Regions from separate parts of the Homo sapiens genome. Here all the other regions are linked to region 3. The links are contacts of gene promoters, found by promoter capture Hi-C in blood cells and fetal thymus (Javierre and others, 2016). All regions are on one chromosome and are shown on one strand. Each heading gives the region's core, a stretch centred on a gene start or on the middle of the fragment in contact. The rest is flanking DNA. Distances are from core to core; before and after follow the strand shown. Region 1 has its middle 35 kb from the start of TEX2. Region 2 overlaps TEX2 (testis expressed 2). Region 3 holds the start of CD79B (CD79b molecule). Region 4 has its middle 12 kb from the start of TEX2. Region 5 overlaps TEX2 (testis expressed 2).

Region 1 (2,700 bases), core at 118-2,617, 370 kb before region 3:
TATATATATTAAGAAAATACTCTAAAATACAATAGGAAGTTGAGCTGGCAAATATCTGTTGCATATCAGGCCCCTGTGCTTGGTGTTGAAGATTCTGAAATAAAGAAGACAGTCTACCCTTTAAGAAGTTCACGGTCAGCCGGGCGTGGTGGCTCATGCCTGTAATCCCAGTACTTTGGGAGGCCGAGGTGGGCAGATCACCTGAGGTGAGGAGTTCGAGACCAGCCTGGCCAACATGGCGAAACCCCATCTCTATTAAAAATACAAGAAATTAGCTGGGCATGGTGGCGTGCGCCTGTAATCCCAGCTACTTGGGAGGCTGAGGCAGGGAGAATTGCTTGAACCCCGGTGTTGGAGGTTGCAGTGAGCTGAGAGCTGACATCGTGCCATTGCACTCCACCCTGGGCAACAGAGACTCTGTCTCAAAAAAAAAAAAAAAAAAAAAAAAAAAAAAAAGAAGTTCGTGGTCTGCAATAGAAGACGGCCACATAAAAATAAATATTATTCAAGCCGGGTGCGGTGGCTCACGCCTGTAATCCCAACACTTTGGGAGGCCAAGGCAGGTGGATCACGAGGTCAGGAGATTGAGACCATCCTAGCTAACACGGTGAAACCCTGTCTCTACTAAAAATAGAAAAAATTAGCTGGGCGTGGTGGCGGGCGCCTGTAGTCCCAGCTACTCAGGAGGCTGAGGCAGGAGAATGGCGTGAACCTGGGAGGCGGAGCTTGCAGTGAGCCGAGATGGTGCCACTGCACTCCAGCCTGGGCGACAGAGCAAGACTCTATCTCAAAAACAAAAAAAAAAAAACAAAAAAAACAAATAAATAAATAAATAAATATTATTCAATATACACAGAGAGACAAGCTGTACTAAAAGTAAGTGCTAGGTACATGGATGGTGCAATCATGGGGTAGGTGATTAGCTCTGGTTAGAAGGCTTGGGAAAATGCAGGCCGGGCACGGTGGCTCACATCTGTAATACCAGCACTTTGGGAGGCCAAGGCAGGAGGATCACTTGAGGCCAGGAGTTCAAGACCAGCCTGGCCAACATGGTGAAACCCCATCACTACTATAATTACAAAAAAAACAAAATTAGCCAGGTGTGGTGGAGTGAGCCTGTAGTCCCAGCTACTTGGGAGGCTGAAGAATGAGAATCACTTCAATCTGGGAGGCGGAGGTTGCAGTAAGCCGAGATTACGCCACTGCACTCAAGCCTGGGTGACAGAGCGAGATTCCATCTCAAAAAAAAAGGCTTGGGAAAATGCTTCTGAGCAGGGGACATTCCAGCTAGTACATTCCTGAAAGCACATAGAGGAGGGAGGGCGGAAACAGAATGCCAGGCAGAGGAAGACCCTCATGGAGGCATGAACACCCTCTCTGGCTGGAGGAATTGTGAGCAGTGAGCTATGGCCAGAACAGAAGTTTGACCCAGGGCACAAGAGGAGGTGAAACCAGAGAAGCTGCACAGGGGCCTGTGAACCAACTGGGCCAAGGGCCTGCAACTTGAGCCAGAAGCCCAGCGGTTCCTAGACTGTGTGCCGAGGAACACCAGTCCTTCAGACTGACAGATGCTCTGTGCAAAAGGCTTCCATGGCAAAGTGCCCTTGGAAAACTCTGGGTTAAAGGGTTTTGTTCTTTAATTGCAGACGCATCAAAGCCTTTACTATACTAATATGCCAGGAATTCTCCAAGAGGGGGCAACACAGGGAGCTAGTCCCAAATGGATTTAACCACAGGCCTCCCATGCCCACCACCACACACTTTGTTGTTTAAGGAAAATTTATGGCCAGGTACAGTGGCTAATGCCTGTAATCCCAGCACTTTGAGAGACTCAGGCAGGAGGATCACTTTAGCCCGAGAGTTTGAGACCAGCCTGGGCAACAAGCAAAATTCCATCTCTACAAAAAATAAAAATAAATTAGTCGGGTGTGGTGGTGCACTCCTGTAGTCACAGTGACTCGGGAGGCTGAGGTGGGAGGATTGTTTGAGTCCAGGAGGTTGAGGCTGCAGTGAGCTGTGATCGTGACATGACACTGGACTCCAGCCTGGGTGACAGAGACCCTGTCTCCAAAAAAAAGCAAAAGAAAATGTATTGTTAACATCTTATACGGTGATGTCCCCAGGGCACAGTTTCAGAAACTCAGCTGTTGGGCAATGGGAAGCCAGTGAAGGAAACCAGTAAAGTGAAAAGAACACAAACTTCGGAGTCCCATGGTCCTGAGTTCAAATGCATTTCACTGTTTACCAGCTCAGTCACCTTGACCAACCTTGGGCAAGTTGCCTCATCATTAAAGTGGGACCCACAGAAGCTACCCTGTAGGCTTTTGGAAATTAAATGAAAGAACCTAAGCAATATGGTAGACACTCAGTAGGTTCTGGGTACATAACTGGCAGTCACCATTACAATCTTTTCATCATCGTGATCAGAAAGAGCTCATGGGAGCTGTCTTGGGGGGTTGCTCTGCCCAGTCGGGCCTGGACACAGCGAGACTAGAGAACCGGCTATGAAACCACCCCAGGAGGGAGGCCGAGGGGAATATCCCACAGCTGTGAGAGGCATGAAATCCACAGGTCTGGGTGGCTGGATGGAGTCAAGAGTGAGATCAATATTGAGGACACCTGTGGGGCTAGGGCCAGTGGGTCAGGGAGTTGGAAGGGCTTTTAACCAGCACAGAAAGTCCAGGCTGAGCAGCATTTCAG
Region 2 (2,700 bases), core at 29-2,528, 290 kb before region 3:
TACTTGAATCATCCCGAAACCATACCCCGCTGCCTCTGGTCCGTGGAAAAATTGTCTTCCATGAAGCTGATTTTGCAGGGAGGAGGAGAAAATTTCACTTTTCCTCTACATCTGTTTTTGAAGTTTTTTTCAATGAGTTTGAAATTATATATTTTTTATTGAAGTGAAGATGTATACATATGGTTCAACTCTCTCATTTCACTTCTAGAAATATTTCCTAAGGAAATAACCAGAGGGCAGTCAAAGGTTTATCTATAGCTAGTCAAAGGTTTATCTATAGCATCATGTGCAGCATTGCAGTCTTGTTTGTAATAAGAAATTCAAGTGGTATTCTTGAATTACATTATGGAATATTCATCCTATACAGCGATTAAAAATCATGCATGAAATAATCTTTGATTTGAGAAAATGCTTATAAGAACAGTAAACAATTAGGGAGGGCTGCTCTGTGCCAGGGATCATGCTCAGTGCTTTGCTTAAGTTGTTTCGTTTAATCTTCTGAACAGTCAGTTGCCATTCCCATTTTACAGATGAAAAGAAGCTTAGGCTTGGTTAGGGTAAATGATTTGCCAGAGGGCCAGACTGCTACCAAGTTGGTGGAACTCAAACTAAAGGCCTTGCTAATGATAGATTACTTCAGTGTGTAATCTTGAGTATAAAAGCAGATTACATACATACATACAGTGTGTCCTCATTTAATAAAAATGAGTCTTTCTGCCTTAGTTTTCTTGTGGGTAAGGCACGGAGGATTGGCTAGGGCAATTTTATATTCTGAAGATAATGATTATAATAATTTTTAAAAGATTGACATGTGTTTACATATAATTTTTTTTCCAGATCACAAAAGTATTTGGAAATACCTGAAATTAGCAAATAACAATTACTGTTAAACCTGTTATATGGAGAAAATGAGAATTAATGCTACCCTCTCCTTTTTTTTGCCCAGTGCAGACATTTGTACATTGGTGTCAGCTTGATGAGTACTTACTTGATGAGTACCATCTGTTTAGGACATACCTGTCCTGAGTTTTCATTACTTATTCTAGGGATTTTTTGCCCCCATATTGATGTCATTTTCTTTTTTTTTTTTTTTGATACGGAGTCTCACTCTGTCACCAGGCTGGAGTGCAGTGGCAGGATCTCAGCTCACTGTAACCTCCGCCTCCAGGGTTCAAGTAATTCTCCTGCCTCACCCTCCCGAGTAGCTGGGACTACAGGCGCGCACCGCCACGCCCAGCTAATTTTTGTATTTTCAGTAGAGGCGGGGTTTCACCATGTTGGCCCAGATGGTCTCGATCTCTTGACCTTGTGATCTGCCTGCCTCGACCTCCCAAAGAGCTGGGATTACAGGCGTGAGCCCCCGTGCCCAGCCTGATGTCATTTTCTGATGTCTATGTGTTGTCTCCTTGAGTTTTCCCTGTGGATGCACCCATTATTTTTTATAAATATTTTATTATTTTTTATACTACTTTTATACTACAGAAAAGTTTTTACTAATTTTCTAGTTTCTAATACCAGTTTTCAGCAAAGTTTTTGCTAATTATGTTCCAGCCTTAGTGCAAGAGAGGGTTTGTCTCATTGTGCCCTTGCCAGCATCATACATGTTTTAATCATTGAGAGAAATTATTTCATCGGTTTGTTTCCAATTCTGTATTATTTTTAGTAAGGTTGAGTTTTTTATTTGTTTCTTGGCCATTTGAACTTTTGGGTGAAGTGCCTGTTCATGTACTTGGGAGATACCTATTGAAGATGCCTTCCTAAATTTGACCATTAAAGAAAGACCTTAAGAAAGACTGTAAGTCCTTCTAAGGGGAAGTTTTACTCTGCCAGGTGGAATGCATTTTTCTTACATTGCATGAAAGTTAAAAACATGATTTCTTAACCACTTGGAATTTATCTGACTTACAAGATTTGCCTTTAAAATTTTAGAAATGATTGGTGAAAAGTACATGGAACCTCTCTGTACTACTTTGGCAACTTCCTGAGAATCTGTCATTATTTCAAAATGAAGCTTGAGAATTTAAGGAATGGTACAACTTCAGCTCTCTCCTCTTACTGCCTGGAACCCTGCTTGATAATCCCAACTGGTAGAACCAATAGGGACGGGAGGGGAGCAGCTCTCATGATATCCCCAAAGCCAAACAGTGGTTAGGAATGCTGCTTTTGTTTTTAATTTGGACATAGTTTCAAACTTTAAAATGGATGCAAAAGTAAAAATGGAATCTTAAACCCTTTCCCAAAGGTACATTGTTGTTAACATGTTACCCCATGAGCATCAGCTTTTGAAAATGTGTTGTTTTGGCTAGGCATGGTGGCTTCCGCCTGTAATCCCAGCACTTTGGGAAGCCAAGGCAGGCAGATCACCTGAGGCCAGGAGTTCAAGACCAGCCTGGCCAACATGGCGAATTTCTGTTTCTACTAAAAATACAAAAATTAGCTGGTTGTGGTGGCATACACCTGTAATCCCAGCTACTTGGGAGGCTGAGGCAAGAGAATGGCTTGAACCCGGGAGGTAGAGGTTGGAGTGAGCTGAAATCTTGCCACTGCACTCCAGCCTGGGTGACAGATCGAGACTCTGTCTCAAAAAAACAAAAAACAAACAAAAAAAAAGAAAAGAAAAGAAAAATGTGTTGTTTTGTGACCACAGCCACAACACACTATTCTCATATCTTGGGCTTTCGGCACCATACTCTCTTGGCT
Region 3 (2,711 bases), core at 137-2,636:
TGGGGCTGCCCGGAACGGGCTGTTCCTCGGATGAAACCTTAACCCTCCTGCCCCTGACTTCCGTGGCTCAGGTCCTGGCCTGCACCCCTTGAGAGTGGCCCCCACCTTATCAGGTCCGAGGCCTAGGCCAAGATCTAAAGAGGGACCACCCAGACCCTCTGCCTTCCAACCATGGCATGGGAGGTGGTTCTGCTTCTCCCTAAATCCAGACAGACCTGCCCCAGCACAGACTGGAAAACGGAGGGTTGTGAGGAGAGTGAGAGGTGGACAGAGGGCACCGACGATTTAGCATCTCTTCCTCTCCTGGGGGTCGAGGATGAGAGACAAAAAAGAAGCTGCCAGGAAACATAAAATTCAGAGGGCTCAGCTGCAGGGCTGAGGTCTGCAAGCATGCTGTGTACACTTGTGCATGTTGTGCCCTGCACAAGGGCATCTCTGAAGGGGCTGCATTGGACCCAGGGGCAGGGGCGCAAAGGTGAGTTTATATCAGTTCCTGAGCACTGTGGCTCCATCCAGCACTCTGAGGACAGGCAGGATACAGCTGGAGGACCTGAGGGCTCCCCCACACCAGCTCCTGTTCCCTGCCCAAGACCCCCTGGACCTGCAGACAACAATTCAACGCACTCAGAGTCCCACAGTTAAGAACTCCCTGAAGAAGCCCCCAGTGGCTGCGTGGTGGATTTTCGCAAAGCTGTCTCCACCTACATCCACCCTGTTTGGCAGCCCCTACATACTCTTTCACAGCATGAGGAAGGGAGGCCTCTCACCAAGACCTGGACTGAATCTTCTCCCAGTGGCTGCCACACTTGACCTGCTCTTGCTCCAGAACCTCTGTGGCTCCCATCCTCCACAGGGTCAACTTCCAACATGGCTGCCTGCACTCCAGCCAAGAGGCTCTGCTCTGGGCCCCTCCAGATGCCTGACCTGGGTCTGTGGCTGCCCTGTCCTTCTTCAGTGCTCCTCTTCCCGCTGGGTGAGGAATAGTTCAGGACAGAGGAGCTAAGTTCAGGTTCATTCATAGGACAGGTGCCTATTTCGCTCACGGCCCAGGAATAGAGACTTGCCGGGCTCGGCCCTTCGGGGAGTTGGCAGACGGCAGAGGGGAGGCTGGCTGGCCCAGGGGATGACCACCGGTGGGGTAAGCACAGACAGAGGGGAGCACAGGCTTCCCCCAGAAGACTGAGAGGCCCCCCAGAGGCATCCACAGAGGACCCCAGCTGTGCTGCCCAAGCTGGGCGACCGCCAAACCTTAGCGGCCCAGCTGACAAAAGCCTGCCCTCCCCCAGGGTCCCCGGAGAGCTGGTGCCTCCCCTGGGTCCCAATTTGCATGGCAGGAAGGGGCCTGGTGAGGAAGAGGCGGGGAGGGGACAGGCTGCAGCCGGTGCAGTTACACGTTTTCCTCCAAGGAGCCTCGGACGTTGTCACGGGTTTGGGGTCGGGGACAGAGCGGTGACCATGGCCAGGCTGGCGTTGTCTCCTGTGCCCAGCCACTGGATGGTGGCGTTGCTGCTGCTGCTCTCAGGTACAGAACCCACGACGAGGCCTGTGGGGTTTGCTCTCATCTCCAGCTGTCTGGGCCCTGCGGCTCTGCCTCCTGCTTGCTCCACCCTCCTCCTCTGTCTCTCACTCTTTACCGCCTGTCTCCCTCTCATGGCCCTGGGGCCTGGGTCTGTGGGTGTCAGCTGCACGTGGTGATGGGCTCAGGAGCCTGTGGCCCCAGTTCCTCTCCTGCCTGGAGAGCATCAGGCTGAGCTGGGCATGAGGAGCAAACCAGAGTTAGCAACCAGGACCGTGGAAGAACTAGGCTCAGGAGGAAGAGAGGCTGAGGGCGGTGCCTGGGGGTCGGGAGGGGAGAGGCTGTCCCAACCGGACCCTGGAAGATGCAAGATCCAAATGTGGTCCCCTCCTCTGGGAGGTGAAAGATCCTCCGGGCTGTGACTTTCTTCCTGTCTCTCTTTAAAAAAAAAAAAAAAAAGAGAGACAGGGTGTCCCTATGTTGCCCAGGCTGGTCTCAAACTCCTGGACCCAAGCGATCCTCCTGTCTTGGCCTCTCAAAATACTGAGATTTCCCTGTCCCTCCTGTCTCATTCAGATGCCTGCTCAAAGCCACCATGAGGGTCAAAGGCAGAAAGGGGGCTGGGGGCAGGGCTTCCGGTACCCCCACCCCATATCTGTCTCCCAAGTACTGGGGGCAGGGAGGACCGAGGGGTCTTGAAGCTGCTGTCATGGAAGGAGGAAGTAGCTCCGGGAACATAGAGGGCATGCAGGGGTGGGGCAGCCCAGGCCAGAGGAGGCCCTGACTGGCCCCGCCCACTTCCTCCCACCCAGCAGCTGAGCCAGTACCAGCAGCCAGATCGGAGGACCGGTACCGGAATCCCAAAGGTCAGTAGCCTCGCCTGCCGCTTCTGAGGGCAAGTTGTGTGCGACTATGTCCTGTGTCCGACTATGGTCCCTGTCCTGGGGGCGGTCCGCCTTCCCACCCTTGCCTGATCTCCCCATCCAGGATTCCCATCCCCAGGCCTCCTTAGGATCTCCTCTGAGCCCCACCCCCAGCCCACTGTCATCCTCATCAGACACATGCCCTCCAGCCTTGGCCACTGAAGGGCTGGGCTAAACTCTGGGTCATAGCAAGGGAGCCTGGGGGTTCCTCTAGGACTCAGGCCCGGGCCTGTCTAGCTGGGAATCTGGCTGAGTCTCGGGTGAGCCCTCCA
Region 4 (2,700 bases), core at 90-2,589, 340 kb before region 3:
CCCTCGCATTTTCCAGCACCAGTGGATGGATTGACGTCCTTTCTTAAGTCCGATCTGCTGGACCACCACAAATGTGTGACTTGAGTGCTGAGACTTGACATCTCTCCATCCTACCATGGCCTGGCGAGAACAGAAGAGCTCATTCTAAGTGAATCAGGCTTGGATAGATTAAGAGGTGGCCAACGGATGTTTTGATCTCTATTTTTGTTTTGTTTTGTTTTGTTTTGTTTGTTTAGATGGAGTTTCACTCTTGCCCAGGTTGGAGTGCAGTGGCGTGATCTCGGCTCACTGCAACCTCCACCTCTGGGGTTCAAGTGATTCTCCTGCCTCAGCATCTCCATTAGCTGGGATTGCAGGTATGCGCCACCACGCCCGGCTAATTTTTGTATTTTTAGCAGAGACAAGGTTTCACCATGTTGGCCAGGCTGGTCTCGAACTCCTGACCTCAGGTGATCCACCTGCCTGGGCTTCCCAAAGTGCTGGGATTATAGAGGTGAGCCACTGTGCCCGGTCTTAATGGATGTTTTGAAAAGAACTGTATAAGGGCCAAGTAAGACAGAGACCCACATGTGACCTCTGGATTTGGCAGAGTGGAGATCATCAGTGGTGTGACAAGAGCAGTTTTAGAGGAGCAGTAGAGGCAGAAGCCACTTATCAGAAGCCACTTTGGAGCAGGTGAAAGAGGATGATAGGAGAGGAAGAGAATTCTTTGGAAAAATTTTGCTGTAAAGGACAGCTGGGAATGGAGTAGCAGTGAGAGGGGTGATGGGCAAGAGGAAGGGAATTTTTCAGAAGGGAGATAGGAGAACATGTTTGTACGTTAATTGGAATAATCTGGTAGACAAGAAGAAATTGATTATGCAGGAGAAAGGGGGAAATGGTTGCAATAGTAAAGTCTCAGGAAGCTAGAGAGGTTAGGCCTTCTGTGGAAAGAGTGGTCACAGAGGTCTGAGAGTGGGAGAGTGAACTCACCCAGGTAATATAGGCTTGCCAGCCAGGGCCCAGTGCCCATTTGAGATTTGTGATGATCGTTTTGAAGTGGAATCGTTGAGTAACAGCAGAGGCATGAGGTGAGAAAGGATGATGGCTGTGGGGTTGGATTTGGGGCAGAGTTTGGACATGCCCAACCCAGCACTTGCTCATGGATTGGATGTGACCAGGAGAGGATGAAATTGAGGACAAGGATGCAACTGAGACAACTCATTGTTCTTGACTTGAACGAGTGGGTAGGTGGGTGCCATTGATGAAGAGAGGGTGGGCAGAGCCTAAGAGCTAGTTCTGTTTGATGTATTTTGATGTGGGATGATTTGAGATGATTATTAGCATCCAACAGGCGAGACCCAGCAGGCAGTTGGGCAAGTCTGGAGTGTAAGGGGAAGGTTGCTGTTTTCTCCTCTGCTCTGCAATATATGAAAACATCCCTTGGGCTGGGCCAGGGTATGTGACATTCACCATCATAATGTGCACACAGGCAGAGGCAGGGCTTCCGAATTTCCCACTAGACTGCAAGCTCCTCGTGAGCAGGGCCTGGGTTTTGTTCACTAGCACCTTTTAGGGCACCCCAGAACCCAGCAGGCATTCAATCAGTATTTTCTGCTGGATAGATGAATTATGTCATAGTCCCTCCCAGCCTCCGGAAACCAGGTGGCTTCCTAAAGTCTGGGACAGGTACCTTCTTAGTTTAATGAGGCCTTACTAATTATAATGGTGACAGTGATGCTTTGGGGGTGACTTACAGTCAGGAAGGGCCAACTGGTCTTCTGAATAATGATTTAAGTGGGTCACACCGTGATGGCTGAGTGACATGGGAGGCCAGGTGGGTGTAGGAGGGTGGAGTGGGCGATTGGATATAGAAAGAAGGCAATTCCAATTCTGCCAGTAAGCTGGGTTTGTTTTGTGACCTTAGGCCAGAGACTTGGCTTCTTCAGGCCTCAGTTTCCCTTTCTTTCTTTCTTTTTTTTTTTTTTTTGAGATGGAGTCTCGTTCTGTTGCCCAAGCTGGAGTACACAGTGGCATGATCTCAACTCACTGCAACCGCTGCTTCCCAGTTTCAAGTGATTCTTCTTTTTCAGTCTCCGGAGTAGCTGGGATTGGAGGCACGCACCACCACAGCCGGCTAATTTTTGTATTTTTAGTAGAGATGGGTTTCACCATGTTGGTCAGGCTGGTCTTGAACTCCAGACCTCGTGATATGTCTGCCTCGGCCTCCCAAAGTGCTGGGATTACAGTCGTGAGCCACCGCTCCTGGACCCTCAGTTTCCTTTTTACTTATTTATTGTTTTAATGGGAATGACAGAGATCTACTCCCTGCCCCCAGATGGCCGTAGGCACCACTAGTAAAAGTGATCATGATGTTTCTTTTTTTTTTTTTTTGAGACAGAGTCTCACTCTTTCACCTAGGCTGGAGTGCAGTGGCACGATCTTGGCTCACTGCAACCTCCACCTCCTGGGTTCAAGTAATTCTCCTGCCTCAGCCTCCCAAGTAACTGGGATTACAGGTGCCCGGCACCACGCCCGGCTAATTTTTGTATTTTTAGTAGAGACGGGGTTTTGCCATGTTGCCCAGGCTTGTCTCAAACTCCTCACCTCAGGTGATCCACCCACCTTGGCCTCCCAAAATGCTGGGATTACAGGTGTGAGCCACCGGGCCCGGCCGATCCTGGTGTTTCTGTGGCAAATAAGGGAACCTAATAAGCCCGA
Region 5 (2,761 bases), core at 247-2,746, 320 kb before region 3:
GCTTGTTTTCTTATTCAATTTTCAGTCCTTTCTTGGACCTCATGCTGTCTTTTGGGCTGTATTCTTATAGATGGTTATATTTATTATTTTAGGCTCAAAATAGAGAATTTAAAAATCTTTTTACTGAAAGGATTGACTGAACAGTGATCGTCATTCAGCAAGTATTTGAGCATCTACCAGGGCCAAGCATTGTGCTTGGCATTGGAAATCTGATGGGGAGCAAAACAGATGTGGTTCCTTCCTGCACAAAGCACATTATCTAGTCTAGACAACAAACAAGTCAATAGACATATGCATCATATATATTGGATTGTAATATGTGTAAAATCTCCTTCCTCTGAAGGAAAAGAACAGGGCACCAAGAAAGAAAGAAAAGGAAGAAACCAGCAACTGGGGGTCTTGGGCAGAGCATTTCAAGAGAGAGAGCAACGTGGATGTCTGGCTGCTGTGCAGAGGGGCAGAGAGGGGAATATGGGAAGGGCAGGCTCAGAAGGTGCCATTCTGCAGAGGACATGTCACAAGGCAGCATAGTGTAGCAGGGAGAGCAGAAGCTTGGGAACCAGACACTGCTCAAGGGGCCTCGGGAAGTTTCTTAACCTCTTTTGCCTCACTTTCCCACCTCCAAGATGCTATGAGGGTTGAATGAGCCTTGAGAGCCATGCCTGGCATGTACAGAAAGGACTGTGGGTAGGGTTTGCTGACTCTCAGGGCTGTGGGGAACTTGATTTCGAGTGGATGAGCTTCTCTTCCTAGTCAGCATTTCCCATGATTCCATGTGTAGCGTAACCATAGGGCAGAAGGTAAAACTAAGACAGCTGAGTAGGTGTATCCATGGAGGCATTCTAAGGTAGATTATGTTGGACTTTCTGTGGTGTGCTAAGCATTCAGCACCCGTACCTGGGAGACTTGGCCCTACCTGTAGGCATCTCTGCAGTGGGTGCAGTCCTGAGTGTGGAGCAAGGTGGACCGGAAGCAGCTGTTCCTCTGCTCTTGCCTGCAGTTGTTTGCTTTAGTGTTTGGATGCGGGCAGATCTTTCACCTTTTTTCCTGATAAGAGGAGACAGAGACTACTGGCCTTACAGCCAGGTGGTCAAACATGACAACTCGGAGTTGCTGTGTGCAAAACCTGCCTGAACCCCATCTCCAGCGAGATTTGATGATGTTTCCCCATTCAAAGGAACAACCACGCCTCAGGACCATACAAGGAGAGGACTTCATGAAACAGGTCACTGGCTTGGGATAGTCAATAAAGTGCTATGAACCCAGCCATATTTAAGTTATAGTTATCTTGTAAAGTATGTGTGAGGCCTCATCAAATTTGTATATAATTGACTAAGTTTTTCAAAATATCTTTTGCTCTGGAATTTTAAAAAACATACACAAAAGTGAAGAATAATATAATGGATATCAGGCATCTATTACTCAATTTTGATAATTATCAACTTTTGCTAATCTTGTTCCAAGATAGTTCCACAATGAAGCATTGTTGGTGGATTTTCTGTCACAGTATAAATGTGTCTTTGGACTATAAAATCATTTGGTAGATATTCTAGAGAAAAAAATGCCTGCACACTGCATAATTATAGGGCTGGTGTTAGGTAGTTGAAATTCAGAATCTGAAATGAACATTTAGTGGAAACCTCTTACAGACTTGTGTATGAGAAGTAGGCATATAAAATTAAGAGTGCTTTCAAGATGACCAGTTAGTCTATGTATTTACTAAGTAGCAACTGTACTGGGCAGTGTGCAAGGTACATTTTTTTTTTTTAAAGGCCAGGTGCTGTGGCTTATGTCTGCAATCCCAGCACTTTGGGAGACCGAAGTGGAGGATCACTTGAGGCCAAGAGTTTGAGACCAGCCTAGGCAACATAGTGAGACCCTGCCTCTACAAAAAAAAAAAAAAAAAAGCCAGATGCAGTGACACACACCTGTAGTCCTAGCTACTTGGCAGGCTGAGCTGGGAGGAGGATTGCTTAAGCCTGGGAATTCAAGGCTGCTGTGAGCCATGATGGCACCACTGCACCACAGCGTTGGTGACAGAATAAGACCCTGTATCTAAAAATCAAACAAACAAAAAAGGACAGTGTTTGTCCACAGTGGCTCATAAAATTATGAGCCCATGATGAAGTCACAGGTTATTTTCAAACATTCTTAGCAAATGAATTTTACACAAAGCCCAAACTGTGAAACTGATTAAGAAGCAGTATTTTAGTGGCATATGTTACTTTAAGTTCAATTTATAGTATTCACTTGTAGCATGAAACAGGACACAAGTTAATATGTCGAAAGTTTCTATATGTTGAATTTCATTTTTATTTTTTAAAGGGGAAATTCACATCAAACATGCAAACAACCCTGTAGCAGTGCCTCTGTGCATCATGGTACAACAGACCATTAAACATTTGAAAGGTGGTTAGTGCAACTGAGAATTGGAAGCTTTAATTTTAATTAAGCTGAAACCGAAGCTTTAATTTTAATTTAAATAGTTCCATGTGCCCATATTGGACAGTATAGCTCCAGGGTTTATTAAACCACCATTCCTGGTGATAGGATAGAGCCCAGCACAAACTAATCTGGGCAACAAATCAAAGGGCACAAGTCGCATGTAGGTTCCAAACTCAGTACATTTTAGAGAAAAGGAGTTTGATTATGTAGTAGAAGGAAGAACTGCCTGGTGGGACTCATGATCTTCCTTTAAGAGCAAGGCTCAAAGACCTGGGGAGTTTTGATTTGATGCTATGATGTCTCCTGGGGCTCAGAA

Evidence for each region. Contacts are between HindIII fragments. The CHiCAGO score rates a contact against its expected background, and 5 or more counts as called.
Region 1: a fragment that was not itself captured here is called in contact with the fragment with the promoter of CD79B in region 3 in 1 of 17 cell types (M2 macrophages); the score reaches 6.1 in M2 macrophages.
Region 2: a contact is called between a fragment that was not itself captured here and the fragment with the promoter of CD79B in region 3, in 2 of 17 cell types (naive CD4 T cells and monocytes). The highest score is 5.9, in naive CD4 T cells.
Region 4: a contact is called between a fragment that was not itself captured here and the fragment with the promoter of CD79B in region 3, in 1 of 17 cell types (monocytes). The highest score is 6.0, in monocytes.
Region 5: a contact is called between a fragment that was not itself captured here and the fragment with the promoter of CD79B in region 3, in 1 of 17 cell types (endothelial precursors). The highest score is 5.3, in endothelial precursors.

The regions. Positions count from the first base shown.
Region 1 is chr17:64,296,449-64,299,148 of GRCh38, reverse strand. No RefSeq gene overlaps it. Among named protein-coding and RNA genes, the nearest start is that of TEX2, 35 kb to the right of the region's middle. The HindIII fragment of the contact is 5,394 bases long and covers 1-2,700 here.
Region 2 is chr17:64,225,618-64,228,317 of GRCh38, reverse strand. The region is part of intron 1 of TEX2 (testis expressed 2); the gene reads left to right. Among named protein-coding and RNA genes, the nearest start is that of TEX2, 36 kb to the left of the region's middle. The HindIII fragment of the contact is 1,470 bases long and covers 544-2,013 here.
Region 3 is chr17:63,931,006-63,933,716 of GRCh38, reverse strand. CD79B (CD79b molecule) reads left to right here and starts at 1,386. Exons shown (of 6, transcript NM_000626.4): 1 at 1,386-1,522; 2 at 2,332-2,382. The coding sequence starts at 1,456. RefSeq lists enhancers at 1-135, 710-759, 770-879, 736-1,406, 1,380-1,769 and 2 more and a silencer at 2,467-2,536. The HindIII fragment of the contact is 15,563 bases long and covers 1-2,711 here.
Region 4 is chr17:64,273,591-64,276,290 of GRCh38, reverse strand. No RefSeq gene overlaps it. Among named protein-coding and RNA genes, the nearest start is that of TEX2, 12 kb to the right of the region's middle. The HindIII fragment of the contact is 5,259 bases long and covers 1-2,700 here.
Region 5 is chr17:64,254,175-64,256,935 of GRCh38, reverse strand. The region is part of intron 1 of TEX2 (testis expressed 2); the gene reads left to right. Among named protein-coding and RNA genes, the nearest start is that of TEX2, 7.7 kb to the left of the region's middle. The HindIII fragment of the contact is 1,885 bases long and covers 554-2,438 here.